Linked DNA regions of Homo sapiens: region 1 is linked to region 2. Evidence: promoter capture Hi-C in human tissues and cell types (Jung and others, 2019). All regions are on one chromosome and are shown on one strand. Each heading gives the region's core, a stretch centred on a gene start or on the middle of the fragment in contact. The rest is flanking DNA. Distances are from core to core; before and after follow the strand shown.

Region 1 (5,743 bases), core at 1,143-3,642, 320 kb after region 2:
ACAAACTATTTCTGTTATTTCAACCATCCAGTTGGTAGCACTTTTTTACAGGAGCCCTAGCAAGTTAATATACATATGCTGTATAAGTTATTTTGGTGATAGAATGTGATGCTTAAGAGTATAGGCTCTGGGGTCAGACAGAGCTATCTGCATCCCACCTATGCCACAAAGTAGTTAGATCTTCAGTGGTATATTAACTTGTCTAAGCCTGTTATTTTCATCTGTAAAATGAGAGAATGCTCTATTTCACAGGCTTATTATAAGGATGAGATAATGCATATAAAGTTATTAGCATAATGTTTCATACATGGTGAACATGCAAATGATAGCCAGTATTTCAACATTTACATACGAATGTACTCCTAGCTATATTCATATATAAATGCACAAACTCACACAAATACCCAATGCCTATAAGACAAATACACAATCCTTATTATCATAGAACTCAAAGTCCAGAAGATATTACATTATAAAATTATATATTTTAAAAATAATTTTAATAAACATTGTGGGAAAAGAAGACAAGGTCAAGGTAATTATAATAGAAGGATTCAACCTAAATTGGGTGGTGAGTGAAGGCTTTCTTCAGAAAGTGACATTTAAGGATAAAGAGAATTTTAAGCATATACAAAGGCCAAATAGGAAAATTCATAACATTTAAACTAGAAACAAAAGAAGGTCTGTGTCACTGGAGCATAGTAAACAAGAGGAAAGGTGGTAGGAGATGAATCAGGTCAATTAAGCAGGGACCAGACCAGGCACAAGTTTGTCTCAGAAGTTATGCAAAGGCATTAAGACTTTATTCTTAAAGCAATAAAAAGCCACTGGAGGGTTTTCAGTAAGGGACTTCTTTTAAGGCTTCGCTTTCTGGTATGTTGAGAATGTGTTAAATTAAAAGGAAGTAAAAGTAGATATATAAATCCACTCAGGATTACAGCAGTAATCCAGTGAAAAGATGATGATACCCCTGGGTACCTGGCTAGTTCCAGGGTGGTCTCAAAAGCTTCAAAACCAAGCCCTGTTTATCATCTTCTGATTCTTGTCCCCACCATTCCCTTACACCTATTTCAACACTCCCCACTTTCATTACTTGTCTACTGCTATCTTTAACAGATTATAGCTGGGATCATTCTTATTAAAAATAGCCTTTACTATTTATTTAAAATGTATTAGTGTGTTAATATGCATATATTGGACATTAGATAAATGAGAATTTTATGAAATTCCTTTTAGAATACATGAATAAACCAAACACTAACTCTTACCTTAAGACCATTGGAAGCTGATCAATATGGATGCCCTGTACAAATACTAGATATGCCAGAGAAGCCATTGAGTCTGCTAACTGTTTATTTTCTTCTTCTTCAAATTCAAGGTAATTCCAAGTTCTCTTTTTCCTTCCATGATTAAAAATCATTTTGGGGAAAGGGTGTCCAATTGCTGATAAAAAACCCTATGAAATGGATAAAAAAGGAAACCATAGCACACAGACTCTAAAATGCCCCCCACCCCGTGTATTCAAACTCCACATTCTCACCAAGGGGAGGTGTAATCACTCCCTTTGAGCGTGAGTGGGACCTATGAGACTTGCTTTCAACCAACAGAATGCGCCAAGATGTCACTCCCATGATTAGATTATATGACAAAAGTGAAGGGGTTTTTGCAGATGTAATTAAGGTCCCAAATCAGTAGATTTTGAGTTGGGTGGCCCTAACTTAATCAGGTATATTTTTAAAGGGGGTCCAGGCCTTCCCTGAGAGTCAGAAACTTTGCTCTCTGACTCTCTCCCTTGCTGGCTTTAAAGAACTAAGCTGCCATGTTATGAGAAGGCTCATGGACAGAACTACATGGCAAGGGACCAACTACAGGCAGCTCCTAGAAGCTAAATGTGGTCCCTGGCTGACAGCCAGCAAGAAAATGGGGACCTCAGTCCTACAGCTTAGAGGAAATGAATTCTGCCAGCGGAGGAAACCTGAAAGTGGATCTTTCCCCAGTTAAGCTTCTGATAAGACTACAGACCCAGTCAACAACTGGCCTGTAGCCCAATGAGACCCTGAGCAGAGGACCCAATTAAGCTGTGGCTGGACTCCTGATCCATAGAAACTGTGAGATAACAAAGGTATGCTGTTTTAAACTGCTAAGTTTGCAGGAATTTGTTATACAGCAATGAAAAACTAATACAGAAGCCAACAGCAAAATCGTATTTTACATAGCATTTTATACATCAGAAGTATTCTAAATTAATTCAGAATCATAGTTTAAAAAGTTTAAAATGATGAATTTTATGTATATTTCACCACAATTTTTTTTAAAAAAGTGCTTCAGGGATATTTGAGAGCAATCTGAAACGTGAGACATACAAATATATGAAGCAAGGGTAAAGCAACTAAGATGAAGAATACTCTAGGAACAATGCTCCACTAACATTGTGCCTGTAGAGAGTGGGATGCAGGAACGCTGGGCAGGGCAGCTGGGCCTGAGGAAACACTGTTGATCTCTCAGTCATCAGGGTTCTCATGTGAGACGAGAAAGAGAAGCATCCTTGCATGAGTGGGTAGGACCACAGGGCTAAATAAAGCTTTCCGCTCAGGAAACAAGATCACTCCTATGCCTCTTATACTGGTACTAATTCTAGCGTACCAGAAAGCACCTACCTTCAGAATCCACTGACATTGATTTTGAGTTTTGGCTCTACCATTTACTACTTGTGTGACACTGGATGAGCCATAAAATGACATAATACCTATGTCAAATATTTATCGAGCAGCTCCACAAAAAAAGCGTAAGAAAGTTAAAGTCACAACAAACTACAAGAGTTAAAAGGGAATGAATGACAAAAACAGCTAAAGCAGAATGAATAACTTCCACACAAGTCACTCTTTTATTCAATAAACACTTAAGTGCAAGGTGCTGGGCCTGACTTTGTGGGGAATTATAAAGCCAAGTATAAGTCTTTTCCAGCCTTCAGGGACTTAAAATCTGCTGATCCCAGATGGTTCCATTAGTCATTTCAGAATACAAAAAGGAACCATGGAAAATCATCCTCAGTCACAAGAGACTGCTATTCAGCGACCAGATGCTAAATATATACTGCTGCAGTGATTTTCAAAGCCATGCATTCTGGTTATAGCTACAAGACAAAAAGTTTATTGCACTCTGATTCCAAATGTCCTTAATCATGAAGCTCCATTTCTTTATTCAGCCAATGCTACATGTGTTTTTTCCAGAGTAAGGTAGCCCTGTTTTTTTTTTTTTTTTTTTTGGCGACAAGGTCTCACTCTGTCACTCAGGCTGGAGTGTAGTGGCATGATCATGGCTTACTGCAGCCTTGACTTCCCCAGGCTCAAGCAATCCACCCTCCTCAGTCTCCTGAGTAGCTAGGACTACTGGTACATGCCACCATGCCCGCTATTTTTTTTTTATTTTTTTTATTTTTTATAGAGATGGGGTTTCGCCATGCAGCCCAGGCTGGTCTTGAACTCCTGGGCTTAAGTGATCTGCCCACCTTGGCCTCCCAAAGGCCTGGGCCTACAAGCGGGAGCTACCGTGCCCAGCCTAAGATACCCTTTTTAAAACATTATTATATGCAACTAGATTCTACAGTGCTGCTCTGGATATCTGAGATCCAATCTGTTCCCAAATCTGGGCCTTCACTATCTATCCACACACCATCCAGCAGTCTTGCTCAGATCCAGGCTGTACCTGGCACCATACAATTTCTCAATATTCATGGCAGCTTTTGTCCTTTCAGAAATGTTCCTGTACTACAGCCTTTGGGACATTCTAGTAGTTCTGTACCAAAATAACTTGTACCAAAGTGAGGATGGCTGAGGCCTGTGAATCCCAACCACACCACACTTACCAGTACTTCTCCAGCACAGAACAGAAGACATCTCCTCATTTCATCTCCAAGCTGGTCTCACCTCTACTTCTAGACTGCTACGTGCATCCTTACTGCTGGCTCTTTCTACTTGCAATGTTCCTTCTACTGAGATTTTAGAACCACTCACCTACATCCTCAGTCTCTTCATAGGATGCTTGTTCTGCCTCACTGCTTTAACTAAACCTGTCTGATTTCTGGTGGGAGATGCTCATTCTCACACCTTTTATACCACAGGGCCTGGAATGCAGCTGTTGGGTAGAGGAGTACAGGTAGGGGCTTAGCACAGTATTGTAGTATTGGCTTTTTCTGTACTTTTCAACAAAAGCACATTTTCCTTTGATGCAGATAACATACTGTCCTTTTCTCTGTCATATGCTGACTTCCTGGTAATTTCCTGACATTCACTGAAGACTCTGGCACCTTCTCATAATCTTTTTCTCTACCCAATTCCTGCTATGATCCTGGGAAAATTCAATGTTCATGGAGATAACCCCTATAACAGGCTAGTCTCATGGTCCTTTATTATTATTAATTTATTTTTCAATCAAGCAACAAGTCATTGCATCCACTCTCATGGTTCTCAATTTCTAAATTCTAGTGACTTTTAGTTCTAATCCATTTCAGTACCTAATCCCATGCTGGATCTCTGAACATCTGGAACTATTCTGTATTTGATACTTTAAACTCCAATATCCCATTTTCTGACCAAAATCTGTCATCCTGTCTCTCCTAGCAATCTGCTTTTCTACTTCTGACTTCTCCAGTCCTGTGATTCCTACATTTTGACCTACCTAGGCATTCCCTCCTAACCCCCCTTCTTTCCCTATCCAACCTGAATCATGGATTATTGACCAGCTGAACTATCTGCACCCTGTATTTCCTTCAGCAGTATCTACCCAGTAAAATGCCAGCCTTGGAAAAATAACTGCAATCTACCTTCTCTGCTTCTACACACAGGGAGCTGAGTATTGCTGGATAAAAAAATACAGACTGTTACCACTATAGTTGTGGTTTCCAAGCACCATTGAGTGCTCAGTACTACTGACTCATGCTTCCGTGGTCTTCCACCATCTCTTTCCTTTCCCCTCAGTATTCCAAACCTTTACCAGTTTCCTTAAGCCCTTTTACTCAATGCCCATTTCTACCTCCTCATTATTAAGAGATCATCTCTCCTTCACCTAGAAATCTGAGGCCAGTGGGTTTGACTCCCCTCAATTGTAAGATTCCATTCCTGCTACAAATTTCTCAACATGTTTTCTTACCTTGATACCCACTAGTTCTTCCTGTCTAGGACTTTCCTTATGGCCTTGATACTATGTCCAGCCATTTGCTCATAAGCCACATTATTTCAGTTATCTCATAAACACTTGTATTTTTCCCTCAACAGTTTGCACCCCAACAGCTATAAACATGCTCAAGTCTTCCCACCTCCATTACCTTCCTACCCTTAGCTCATGTCTTCTAGCTATTACCTCTCCTTCCTTATTCATCCAACCTCTTTTAAAGAATAGCTTACACTAGTCATCTCCTTTTTCTCATCTGTCATTCATTCTTTTATCAACTCCACTCTGATTTGTCTCCAACACTGTACTTACACTGTTCTTGCTAAGATTACCAATGCCATCTTACTTCCTAAATCCTACAGATGCTTTTCAGCATACCTCTATGCATTTAACAGTACTGATCACCTCTATCCTTCTAAAACTCTACTACACCAGTTTCTGTGTATTTCTACCACTTCCGACTTCCTTCTTGGGCTCATTTTAAGTGCTGGTACTCTCTAGAGTTCACTCCTGAGCCCTTTTCTCTTGTCACCTCTTTAGGTAATCTCACCCCCTCTCATTCAAAGTATCTCCT
Region 2 (5,760 bases), core at 2,304-4,803:
TTCTTGTGATAGCCTGATTTAAATGAAAAATGCATGCTACCTGAAACTCTTTGATGATTTTTTAAAAAATCATAATTACGAGTATTTCCATATGTCATAGAATAGCCTCATAATATCCTAGTCTTCAGCCACTTTCTTTTTTTTTTTTTTTGAGATGGAGTCTCAGTCTGTCGCCCAGGCTGGAATGCAGTGGTGTAATCCTGGCTCACTGCAACCTCCGCCTCCCAGATTCAAGCAATTCTCCTGCCTCAGCCTCCCGAGTAGCTGTGATTACAGGCACCCACCACCACACCTGGCTCATTTTTGTATTTTTAGTAGAGACGGGGTTCACCATGTTGGCCAGGCTGGTCTCAAACTCCTGATCTCAGGCGATCCGCCCACCCCGGCCTCCCAAAATACTGGGATTACAGGCGTGAGCCACTGCGCCCAGCCCACTTTCTTTTCCATATTTTTGAAGCTACTTTCCCCTACCATTTTTCTGTCATACACCCCTGGCAAATCTCAATGCTACTACCTCATTTCTCCACAAACAGTCACCAATTTCTGTGTCTTCACTGTCTCAAGTATGTCTTACTAAATGCACATTTCCAATCAGCTTGTTCTGTTCTCTGTAATAATTATTTAGAAAAATTTCCACTCTCTCCTAACCTCCTTCCTGTCCTTCTTTCCCATCTTTAGCCTAGACTGTATTTTGAACTGGTTAATCAACTTCTTATTCAAAATCTCCACCTAGATATCTTACAGAATATTCAAAACTGAAATAATGATCTTCAACCTTCTAAGACTGATTCCCTTTCAGTAAATGGTGCCATTCTCCAAATGCTCAATGCAACCCAGACCATCTTTACATCTAATCTAATACCAAATCCTAGTGGGGAGGTCTACCTCCCAAATAAACCCATTCTCCATATTCTCCATTTTTGCAGCCATTTCAAGTTAAAAAAAAAAGAAAACAAAAATAACAGAAAACAAAAGAAACTTCAAATCTGGTCTTTTTACTTTCCCCACCCCCTTAATTCAAATCTAATTTGCCAGAGTCATTAAAACCCAGGCAGGGCCTGGTGCAGTGGCTCACGTCTGTAATCCCAGCATTTTGGGAGGCCAAAGCAGGCGAATCATTTGAGGTCAGGAGTTCAAGACCAGCCTAACCAACATGATAAAACCCCATCTCTACTAAAAATACAAAAAAAATTAGCTGGGCGTGGTTGCACATGCCTGTGGTCCCAGCTACTTGGGAGGCTGAGGCAGGAGAATAGCTTGAACCCAGGAGGTGGAGTTTGCAGTGAGCCATGATCATGTCATTGCCCTCCAGCCTGGGTGACAGAGCAAGACCCTGTCTCAAAAAAAAAAAAAAAACAAAAGGCAGGATCGAAGGGTAATTTACTCAATGATAATATACTTTAAAAGTTTTTGATACTTTGCACTTATGGTACATACTGTCTAGTGCAGGAAATAGACATTAAATATACCACTGGCTATACAGTTGTAATTAGTGCTATTTAATTAGGTTGTAATAAGAGTGTTTAACAGGAAGACCTAATCCAGTGGAGGCCCCCTTGAGGAAATGACTTCAGCCTGAGAGTTGAGGAATCAGTGTGGGATCGGAGGAAGGATGAAAGAGCCAATTGTAGAAGCCCAGAGACAAAGGATAGGGTCCTGGAAAGAGCTGAAAGGTCACTGGCTGAAGATGGGGGCACTACTGAAGGTGTAGTTGGAGCTGAAGGCATGTAGGACTTTTTAGCTCATCTTAAGGGGTTTGCTTTTTATCCTAAAAATAATGGAAAGTAATTGAAAGGTTTTAAGGGTGGTAACATGATGAGATTTAGCTTTTTGTTTGTTTGTTTGAGATGCAGTCTCGCCCTGTTGCCCAGGCTGGAGTGCAGTGGCACGATCTCGGCTCACTGCAACCTCCACCTCCCAGGTTCAAGCGATGCTCCTGCCTCAGACTCCTGAGTAGCTGGGATTACAGACCCGTGCCACCACGCCCAGCTAATTTTTGTATTTTTAGTAGAGACAGGGTTTCACCATGTTGGTCAGGCTGGTCTCGAACTCCTGACCTAGTGATCCACCCCTTCCCACCCCCACCCCCAGCCTCCCAAAGTGCTGGGATTACAGGCATGAACCACCGAGCCCAGCCTGAGATTAAGCTTTTTAAAAGATGGTTCAGAAGGCAATGTGGTGGTCTGCACCTACAGTACCTGGAGAGGCTGAGGTAGGAGGATGCTTGAGCTCAGGAGTTCGAGACTACCTTGAGTTATGATTGCATTGCTTCATTCCAGCCTGGGCCACAGAGCAAGACTCAATCTCAAAAAAATCACTCAATCTTCTTTACCTAGAGTGTACATGTCTCCCTGCCACTAATTCTCAAGAGGAAGGTCAAAAAGTTGATAGTTGGGGCAAAATTTGTACTGAGTCATTCCTCTCTTTCATTTCCCTTGACTTCTTTCAGATTTTTCATGATGTGAGAGTCACACCCTAAGTCTGTACCCATCTACTCTTTTCCTGAACAATAAGATAATCTCTATATCTAATCTCTAATCTATTAGAGTTTCACGTTGTTGCTCTGGCTGGCCTTGAAACCTTGGGATTAAGTGAGCCTTCCGCTTTAACCTCCCCAGTAACGGGCATTGCAGGCGCCTGCAGCCACACCATTAATACTACTTTAAACAGCAAAAACAAGAACACGAAAATTAAATCTAAACAAAAAGTGCTTGCCAATCCAGGTATTTATGTGACGTCTAGTAAGTAGATCAAGTGCGTTGCTTTCTTGTGAACACTTGGTTCTTTCCTGCCACATCAAAGTGATTGAATTAAGACGTGTCAAGCTGTTAATGGCCCCCAGACTTCCGCTTCAGGAAACTGGAGATCGATGGTTTTTTGGCCGGATTTGCGAGCAGCTTGTCAGCTGTTTTTGCCCTCCCCTTCCCATCCATCCACTGCGAATGAGTATTAGGAATTCAGAAGCGTTGTTTGCTATTTGATCCTAAGGGAAACTACTGTACTAAATATATTCTTCTGATACATGTTAGCACCTCTAAAGTATCTGCAAACCATCAAGAGGTAGTTGCGAAGACTCAAAATCCTAAATCACGCACTCATCAGTACGCAGCTGTTGCGAAACAGCTCTTAAATTGCCACTTTAAACCCAAAGAGAGTATGTCTCTAGCCTCAGCTGCTACCTAATATTGATCAAGCACTCACTACGTGCAAGAGACAGGAACTGTGGAGAAGGCTGGGGAAAAAAGCGTGAAAACCACGAAAACATCAGAAGCCAAAACTCAAGAACCTCTACTAGGCTAACTGATTAGTGAAAACGTCGTGTTAACAGCAAACGCCTTGAGTGTAGCGCTCCTACTCCTAACCCCCGGCTCTCTACACGGCAATCACCCGAACCCACTCTGCCTGCCCTAACAGGCCTGAGCTGCCCGGCTCAGACTCCTACACCTTTTTTGCACCGCCCGGGGCTGGGTGTGGTCACGTGACAGGTTCAGACCAATGGGCAGGCCGCCCGCGGGGGGTCTTCTATAAAAGCGCCTGTCGCGCGACCGCCATTACAACAAAAACTGGCGGCGAGGAACTGCGGAGAACTGTTGCCCTGCACCGCTTCATTTTGTGCAGCCTGAAAGGGGCAATCACATAAGGTCGGTTTTGTAATATACAGGTAACATACAGGTAATGTACCCTCCACAGGGGGTGCTGCCTTAGGCCGGCCCCGAGGTGCGGCCTTGGGTGGGAACAACCGTTTTTTCCCCCCTCTCCCCTCCCCGACCCCATCAACATCGTGCGACAGTCCGGGCAGTTGAGAAGGCCACCCCGCTTCGTGCCTGCAGCCCAGGTGAGTTGCCAGTCGCTTCCCTTTGGCCTTACCAACTTCAGGCTCGTTGCCCCCAAGGGATCTTTTTCTCTCTCTCCCTCTTTTCCCCTAAATGTCTGGTTTTTCTTCAAGGGAGGGCTGGGAAGGAGGAGGTTGGGGCGAGGGAGTGGGAGGTCCAGTTGTCCAACTGCCTCCTCCCATTTTGAAAAATACTCATGGTCTTTGTAGTTCCTCTTAGGTCTTGGACTGGTGTGGATCGCTGCTGCCTGTACTGTAATTTTGGAAATGCAGGAGAAAGTACGGAGCGTTTAGCTTTAGCTGGCATTTTGTGTTTATTCTGCAAGTGGTCATTTGGGACGGGGAAGTTCGGGTTCTTGCTTCATTTATTTATTCAATTAACTTTATTAAGCCCCTGGAACGTCTGAACCCTCTTTTGGGTACTGCAGGATTGTGGTGGGCTTTACTTCAAGGCGCGCTGGCCTGTATTAAGAATTAAGATAGAGGAGGCCGGGTGCAGTGGCTCGCCCCTGTAATCTCAGCACTTTCGGAGGCCGAGGCAAGTGGATCACCTGAGGTCAGGAGTTCAAGACCAGCCTGGCCAACATAATGAAATGCCCATCTCTACCAAAAATACAAAAATTAGCTGGGTGTGATGGCAGGCGCCTGTAGTCCCAGCTACTCGGGAGGCTGAGGCAGGAGAATCGCTTGAACCCAGGAGGCGGAAGTTGCAGTGCGCCGAGATCACGCCAGTGCACTCCAGCCTGGGCGACAGAGTGAGACTCCGTCTCCCCGCTCCCCCCAAAAAAGAAAGAGGTATGTACAGGGACTTTGGGACTCAAGGGAAAGGCCTGGGTGGATGGGAGGGAATGAGAGAGGCTCTTGGGCAGAAGTGATAACTCGTCTTGATCTTGAGGGACAAATAGAAGTTAGACTAAAAAGTGAGGAGGGAAGTTCAGGTAAAGAGAAGTTTCTCAAAGGCATGGATGTATGTACACCGAGTAGGATGTGACAGTGGATAATTGCTTTTTTTTTTTTTTTTTTTTTTTTAATACAGATAGCTGCTATGGCTGGGCGATCTCAGAGGATCGCCTGAGTCGCTCACGCCTGTAATCCCAGCACTTAGGAGGCCGAGGCGGGTGGATCACCTGAGGTCAGGAGTTTGAGACCAGCCTGGCCGACATGGCGAAACCCCATCTCTACTAAAAATAGAAAAATTAGCCGGGCATGGTGGTGGGTGCCTGTAGTCCTAGCTAGTTGGGAGGCTGAGGCAGGAGAATGGCTTGAACCCAGGAGGAAGTGGATGTGGCAGTGAGCTGAGATCGGGCCACTGCACTCTAGCCTGGATGACAGTGAGACTCCGTCTCAAAAAAAAAAAAAGAGATGGTCCTGCTGTGTTGCCCAGGTTGGAGTATTGACAGGCACTGTCATGGCCAACTACAGCCTGAACTGACCTCAAGCGATTCTTCTGCCTAAGCCTACTGGCTAGCTAGTACTACAGATACCCTGCCTCACTGTCGCTGACCGTGTTGGGAATTGGTGAAGTAGCAAGAGATGAGTCTAGTAAGGGGGCAGATTATAAAGGGGTTTGTATAGCATGAAGGACAGTGAGTTGAACTGTATGATCTTAAGCAACACCATTGCATAATTTATGTGGTGACTAGTGATTGAATAAAAGCAGTGGTTTATTGGATGGAGAATAGGAAAACAGTAAGTATCTCGAATATTTAAATTATATTCAGCAGTCATTTGTGCCCATGTATTTGATACTTTGAAGTGGCTGAGATTGGCATAAGGCGGGGCGGCAGGGTGGCGGGGGGGCGTGTATAGATGGAATTAAAAAAAAAGAAAAAAAAGGCTGGGCGCGGTGGCTCACGCCTGTAATCCCAGCACTTTGGGAGTCAGGAGTTGAAGACCAGCCTGGCCAACATGGTGAAACCCCGTCTCTA

What was found. Contacts are between HindIII fragments. The study calls those that stand out against the background at their distance.
Region 1: a contact is called between a fragment that was not itself captured here and the fragment with the promoter of BRDT in region 2, in 1 of the 25 tissues and cell types used here (IMR-90 fibroblasts).

The regions. Positions count from the first base shown.
Region 1 is chr1:92,270,197-92,275,939 of GRCh38, forward strand. GLMN (glomulin, FKBP associated protein) reads right to left here. Exons shown (of 19, transcript NM_053274.3): 8 at 1,269-1,456. Among named protein-coding and RNA genes, the nearest start is that of GLMN, 26 kb to the right of the region's middle. RefSeq lists a silencer at 1,813-2,013. The HindIII fragment of the contact is 5,282 bases long and covers 1-5,033 here.
Region 2 is chr1:91,945,848-91,951,607 of GRCh38, forward strand. It overlaps BRDT (bromodomain testis associated), which reads left to right and starts at 3,554. Exons shown (of 19, transcript NM_207189.4): 1 at 3,554-3,835. The HindIII fragment of the contact is 14,429 bases long and covers 1-5,760 here.